2 separate regions of the Homo sapiens genome follow, and region 1 is linked to region 2. Evidence: promoter capture Hi-C in human tissues and cell types (Jung and others, 2019). All regions are on one chromosome and are shown on one strand. The core of a region is centred on a gene start or on the middle of the fragment in contact, and the rest is flanking DNA. Distances in the headings are between cores, read along the strand shown. Region 1 has its middle 52 kb from the start of TMEM132C. Region 2 holds the start of TMEM132D (transmembrane protein 132D).

Region 1 (3,455 bases), core at 410-2,909, 1.7 Mb after region 2:
TTTGTATTTTTAGTAGAGACAGGGTTTCACTGTGTTAGCCAGGGTGGTCTCGATCTCCTGACCTCATGATCCACCCACCTTGCCCTCCCAAAGTGCTGGGATTACAGGCATGAGCCACTGGGCCCAGCCGTAATTATCTTTTCTTTCCATGAAATTTTCAGCAAAATCAAAAGTGTTTGATAATGTTTTATGGAATATATTTTAGGGAAGGAATGAAATTAATATTGCTTAAAACCGTTGAGCACTTACTTAGTATGTACCATTGTATTCGTCTGTTTTTGCATTTGCTATAGATACCTGAGACTGGGTAATTTATAAAGAAAAGAAGGTTAATTGGCTCATATTTTTGCAGGCTGTACAAGAAGCATGGTACTGACACCTGCTCGGCTTCTGAGGAGGCCTCAGGAAGCTTCCAATCATGGCAGAAGGCGAAGTGGGAGCAGGCACATCACATGGGGAAGGCAGGAGCAAGAGCGTGAGTGGGGAGGTACCTCACACTTTTAAACGGCCAGATCTTGTGAGAACTCACTCACTATTGCAAGGAAAATACCAAGGGGGCTGGTGCTGAACCATTCATGAGAACTCTGCCTCCATGATCCAATCACCTCCCACCAGGCCCCACCTCAACACTGGGGATTACATTTTAACATGAGATTTGGGTGGGAACACACATGCAAACCTTATCAACCAGGAACTCTTCTTAGGACCTTGCTTGCGTTAAAATGTCAAAGCATTGTAACGAACCTGTGAGTTATTATCACTATGCCCATTTCACAGAGGGGAACCTGAAGTTCAAGTGTGTTAGGCAACTGTCTCAAGGTCCCCACAGACGGTGAGTGTTGGATCTGGTGTATTGGTTTCCTGTTGTTGCATAAACTTAGTGGCTTAAAAAACCATACATTTATTCTTTTTCAGTTCTGGAGGTCAGAGGTTTAAAGTCAAGGGGTGGACAAGGCTGCATACCTTCTGGAGGCTCTGGCAGAGAATCTGTTTCCTTTCTGTTTCCAGCCTCTGGAGGCAGCTGACACTCCCTGGATCATGGCTCCTTCCTCCATCTTCAAAGCACATCCCTCCCACCTCTGCTTCTATCATCCTGTCTCCTTCTCTGACTCTCTTGCCCTTGTGAGGAACTTGGGCCCACCCAGATAATCCAGGATAATCTCCCATGTAAAGAGTGTTAGCTTAACCATGTCTGCAAAGTCCCCTTTCCTATGCAAGGTCACATAATCACAGGTTCCGGGGGTTAGGATGTGGGCATCGTTGAGGGCCATTATTCAGCCTAACAGAGCTGAGATTTGGACAAGCTGGTTTTAGTCCCAGAGACCTCACTCCTAGCCACCACACCATCTTCCTCCCAGTCCAGGTAAACTGATGAATCATGCTTGATGGTTGAGAGAGGCTTGGCCAGCCTTACTGTGAGAAGGCAGACAAATCTAGACCATATTTGTACGGTAAAAGACAGAATATGTAGTTTGTTAACTGGCCAGGTAGAATTTCTTCTGCATTGTCTCAAGACCAGGTGGTCGTTAGAGCTTAGCATTTGGAGCATAAGGGGGGTTTCCTAGCAGCCAGCCTTTATATTGGAAGACAGTGCGGAGGATTAGTAAAAATCCTTCCAGCTGCAAATAACAGAAAAACCAACCCCAAATACCTAAATGTCAAGGAAAATTTAGCATCTAACAAATCAAAATGTTCTAAGTGGTGGAAGCTCCAGAAGAGGTTAATGTGTAGCAGCTCCAAATAAAGTCTCCACAACTTTCTGCTTCCCTGGGTCCTCAGGCTGGCTCCCCTCACTTTGGCAGATGGGGCTGAAGTTCCAGGGCTGCTGTCAGGATCCAGCCATGTTCTGTGTTTCTCCTTTTCCAGCCTTTAGAGGTGGCTGACATTCCCTGGCTCATGGCTCCTTCCTCCATCTTCAAAGCACATCCCTCCCACCTCTGCTTCCGTTGTCCCATCTCCTTCTCGGACTCTACCTCTTCCAGGGAACGCCCAGCACATTTTCTCTCACATCTCGTTGGTCAGATGCAGGTCACATGCCTACCCCTAAACCAAACACTGGTGGGGCAAGGGACACCATGATTGGCTTAGAGTATTCTGGATTAACCCCTGATCTAGACATAGATGAGGTCACCTACTCTGAGGGGAGGGATGGATTTTGGGTTTGGAGCCAACACCTTTTGCCACAGGTTGGAACGACATGTTTGGAACAGGGAATGGAAACATGTTGGAGTTCACTCTCAGACCAGCAGCGTTTCCCAAACACACATTGTGGAGCTCAGATTCACTCACCAGAAGGCACCTGTTCACTGGGGGAATTCAAATGGTCCCTGTGAGTGCTTGAAAGTCGGATCGTTCCGTTCTTCAAGACCAGATACACCTTGGATGAACACACCTAGACACAAACCCATTTACTCTGCACCACATCTTCAGAAGCAACTTAAAAAAGAGTTTCAACAGGAGTATTTGAATGTATCTTTTGATAGATGTGCAGAAACAGGGGTAATTGCTTCTGAAATGGAAAGTTTTGCAAACAACTATATCACTATTAACAGTGAAGAGCATTACCATTTTTTTATTTCGACTTTTTGATAGGGTGAAATGTCCTTTGGAATGTACAGTGGAAGATCAGCAGCAGCATCTCTGCTGCTTGAACAATATGTTGCATATTGCTTCATATTTTTGCATGTTACATTGTTGCATGTTGTTTCATAGTGTTGCACGTTGTTTCATAGTGCTGCATATTGTTTTCATATTGCTGCATGTTGTTTCATATCGTTGCATGCTATATTGTTTTGTTTCATATTGTTGCATGTTATACTGTTGCATACTGTTTTATATTGTTGCATGTTATTTCATATTGTCACATGTTATATTGTTGCACATTGTTTCATATTGTTTCATATTGTTGCATGTTGTTTCATATTGTTGCATATTGTGTCATATTGTTGCATGTTCTATTGTTTTGTTTCATATTGTTGCATGTTGTTTCATAGTGTTACATGTTGTTTCGTATTATTGCATATTGTTTTCATATTGTCTTATATTGTTGCATGTTGTTTTATATTGTTTCATACTGTTGCATGTTATACTGTTGCATACTGTTTTATATTGTTGCATGTTATTTCATATTGTCACATGTTATATTGTTGCACATTGTTTTATACTGTTGCATGTTGTTTCATATTGTTGCATATTGTTTCTTCAGCAGAACAGCTTGAGGTTTTGAGAAAACAGACTTTTAACTCAAGATACTTTGACAAACAAATGCCTGACCAGAAAGTTGTTTAATTTTTTTCTATCCAAATCTCTTAAAAGGGGAAGGATTTATAACAGAATCACTACAAAATTGGCTGTGTGTGTCCCTAGGACATTGCGGTCCTTTGGCTAAGATCAATGAGAAGAGACACTTCTCACGATGAAATAGGCAGGAGAGGTGGTGGGGAGTCTAGTTTAAA
Region 2 (3,827 bases), core at 730-3,229:
AGCCACTGATTAGGTATCTGAAGTTGCATCTTCCCAAAAAATCTTCCATACCAAAGAGTGGAAAAAACTTTTGTTTCGCCAACTACGCATAATGAAGAAACCGTTTAACATTTTAGGCAGCAGCTGGAACTTGACAGTCACCTTTTGTCTTCACATTACAGATAGAGAAACCTTCTGCAATGGCAAAAAGAAAAGTTATTTGATGATTGCAATTCAGGGGAAAAACTCAATTTGATTTAGAGAAACATAAAATGATTGTTTTTAATAAAGAACAGGGACCACTTGTTTCTAGTCAATATGTCTGAGAAATGTCTTACAAATAGACTCAGTGTCACAAATAGATGATTTACAAATAGACTCAGACCCACTGTAGCGTTAAGGATGGAACCTGGATTATGCATTCAGTGCGGGCATCAATTTTGACACTCAGAGACCAGGTGAAGGTGTCCAAGAGACGAAAGCTCAGCTCTCTCATCACTCAGGTGAAGGAGAAAGGGGACCAGTGGTTCCAGCACGTGTTCCGCAGGCCGGCAGCATCAGCATCACCTGGAACTTTTTAGGAACGGAGATCGGAAGTCCCACCTTGACCTGCCGAGATAGCTCTGGGGTGGGCCCAGCAACCCAGGTCTAACAAATTTTCCAGTGACTCTCCTGCTGGTTCAAACTTCAGAAACAGTGAAAGAGACAATCTCTTAGGGTCTTTGCAGCGTCGACTCTTAGGAATTTTACAGGAGAGCAATACAAAGAGAAAAGGCAACAAGTTTAAGAAACAAACAAAAGAAAAAACAGAAAGACAGATATATTCAGATAAGTAGATACAGAATAAAAGACAAGAGCACATCTCAAAGGACATGAACCCAGAAAAACAATCTTCGGTAGAACAGCAGTGGCTTTTTTGATCTTCCTTGAAACTTTGAAAGCTAAAAACTCTTAAAGCATTGGTATATTTCTGCAACTACAGGCATACAGGATAAAAAAGTCCATTGCCCCCTCAGTCAGATGATAACGACCCATTTTTATCTACTGAGGTGAATTCACCTCATTAGATTCAGGGCTTGTTGGTTTACAATATTCCTTAAAAATTCTGAATGCTTTTCTTCCCTCTGAGCTTTGATGGGGTTAATTTAAAGGCTCTCGTGGAGCAAAGCAGTTCTTGGGCTACAAATTACAGGACGGTGCTTAGGGATCTTGGTGTGGGAATGTCTTAGTTGGAGATTCCGGGCGGTGTTGAGAATCATGTCTTTTATCTTCTCAAAGCAATGTTGTCTCCTAATGGATCCATTTCCTTTCCCAGTGAGCCCTGGGGAGCACACGACATGTTTCTAGGGACACTAACTTGGGGGATCGCTCTGGGAAGGGGCTTGGGGCCAGCATGACCTCAGTGTGGCGTGTCAGAGACTTCCTCACTGCGATCCCTGGGAGATGCGCAGGGCGGGGCGAGGGCCCTTCTCCAGCCATCCTTGCGCTCTCCCTGGCGAAGAGCCTCAGGTGCCCCCGGGCTGGAGGACCTCCCCTGGGCCTGAGGTTTTGATGACGACGAGAGGCCGGTGGCCAGCTGGACACCTGTTGGGAGAGTGGGTGGCTCCGTCCCCGGGGTGCGCCCGCGCTGGGAGCCCTCGCCCGCCGCCACCGCGCGTCCGCGCTCGCAGGGAGGGTGGCCGGGAGGCTGGGCGTGGGGCGGCCAGGGGGAGGTGGGATTTACTTTGCGGATTGGGGCTCACAGCTGTCACTCCGAAAGGGTGGGGCTTTTTAAAAGCAGACAAATTTTTAAGGCGAAAGCCCCAGCCGGCTCCGGGCACCGTGGCGATCGCCTCCGTTCCGTTCCGGATGCGGTCCTTGCGGAGCGGAGCCCCCGCGCCTGCTGGCAGGAGGCAGCTGCGTTGCTCGGCCGCGTCCCCGAGCCGGCGGGCCCTCCTCCGCGCACATCTGGCCCGCCTCCCCCGGGCGCAGGGGGGAGCCCCGCGTCTCCGGAGCCTGCAGTGCGCTCGGCGCGCGTAGAGCCCCGCGAGCCCCAGCCGGGCCCGGGGCCGGGCGGGCCGAGGCGGCGGCCGGGGAGCAGCCGCACCCGCCAAACTTTGGGTGCCGGAGCGCGCGCGCGCCCGAGCCCCGAGGCGCAGCGGCCGGCCTGGGATGGGGGCTGCGGGCCAGGGAGCCCCGGGCCGCCCAGCGAGCCCGGCCACCCGCCCGGGGGGCTCCGAGCCGCCTCTGCCCGCGTCCCGGGCTCCGCAGCCCCGCCACCCCGGCGCCGCCTGCGCCAGCGCCCGCTAGCCAGCCCGGGAGCAGCTGGAGCCGCCGGAGCCCTGCGCCTGGAGGCGCCCCTCCTTGGGCCACCGGGGGCCACTCTTCGCTCGGGTAAACAGGAAAGGAAATACCCCCTGTGGATTAAAATTTAAAAAAAATTCTGTTGGGGTCGAAGGAGGGAGGTGGGGTTTGCCTGCGCGCGTGTTGGACTCCGGAGAGCAACTCAGGAGCCCGCGCGGTCGTCGCCTCCCGGCCTGGCCATGGACTGGCGGGAAGAGGGAGCAGGGCGCCCGGGCTGCTCGGGCCCCTAGCCGGGCGCTCCCTCGCCACCGGCCCCGCTGCGGGCCTCTAGGGGACTGAGACGGTCTCTTGTTCGCCTGGACGGCGCCGGGGAGCGGAGGATCTGCGCTCCGGGTCTCCAGGATGTGCCCGTCTGAGATGGGGACGCTGTGGCACCACTGGTCGCCGGTACTCATCAGCCTGGCCGCCCTGTTTTCCAAAGGTGAGGACGCCGCGGCCGCCAGGGCCCGGGGACTAACTTCGCCTGGAGTGAGTGTGTGGGAGTGTGTGGAGGATGGGGGCGGCCGGGAGAGAGGGCTCGTGTGCAAGTGTGTGTGCGCGCTTGTGTGCATGTGTGTGTGCGCGCGTGTGAACGTGCGCTCGTGCGGCAGCCAAGCTCCTCGGACGCCCCTTGGCCGAAGGTGCTTGTCCTGGAGCACTTGGGTGGGAGGCCTTAGGTGAGACTACTAAGGAGCCGAAAGGAAAGGAAGGCTGTTTCCTGAAAGCCTTTTCTGTAAAGGGAGAGGGCGTGGGGACCCTTGAGAGGAAAGGTGGCCTCTGGAGGGCCGAGCCGGCTGTCGGGGGAGGAGGGGATTGAGATGACCAGGGAGATTTCTGGAATTTGGGATTGACTTTCCCTGGTGGCACTGACCTATTTGGAAATAATTTTGGAGCACTCCTGTTGTATGGGAATACTATTTTGTGTATTATAGGCTGCCAAAAATATAGCCTGGGGGGCGGCTCTGAAGAAGGGGGATGGGTTTCTCCAGGTCTGCCGCTGTGAGGTTTGGGCACAGGGTCTGGCGCTCACCCTTCCGTAGGGTGCTGGGAGCAGCAGCGGCCCCGCAGGGTGCACGTGGAGTTTCAGCTACAAGTTGTGACCCGAATTTTCCCAGCGGAGCCCTGACTTGAAGCCATGTGTCAAGGCAGGAATTCCTCAATGTTTCCTCTTCTCTTCTGCCAGCATCCCTGTCTGTCATGGGAAGAGCAAGTTTGGAAGCTCTGGACAGTCATTCTTCCTTGAAGAGAAATGGTGTGATTTGTGCGGGAGATTCTTTCTCATGATTGACCTGGGCTGCTTGTGTGTGGTTCCCCCACCCGTGCCCCTTTCCTGCAGATAGATACACTGGGAGGAGAGTGAAGCGTCTCAGCAGTCTCTAATACGTGCTGCAAGAACCCTGTACCCATATTTTTCTGCAAAGATTTTTGAGATGAGATCTCTCTCAGAAACTTCAAAGCCAATTATCACGCACAAAGTCTTTTAATTACATGAATTGTCTGTTCTCTGAGTTCTTCCAGAATCACTG

Evidence for each region. The method cuts DNA at HindIII sites, captures the fragments that hold promoters and counts their contacts. A contact is called where the count stands out against the background at its distance.
Region 1: a contact is called between a fragment that was not itself captured here and the fragment with the promoter of TMEM132D in region 2, in 1 of the 25 tissues and cell types used here (lymphoblastoid cells).

What each region holds. Positions count from the first base shown.
Region 1 is chr12:128,213,583-128,217,037 of GRCh38, reverse strand. No RefSeq gene overlaps it. Among named protein-coding and RNA genes, the nearest start is that of TMEM132C, 52 kb to the left of the region's middle. The HindIII fragment of the contact is 6,040 bases long and covers 1-3,455 here.
Region 2 is chr12:129,902,177-129,906,003 of GRCh38, reverse strand. It overlaps TMEM132D (transmembrane protein 132D), which reads left to right and starts at 1,979. Exons shown (of 9, transcript NM_133448.3): 1 at 1,979-2,743. The coding sequence starts at 2,665. The HindIII fragment of the contact is 10,076 bases long and covers 1-3,827 here.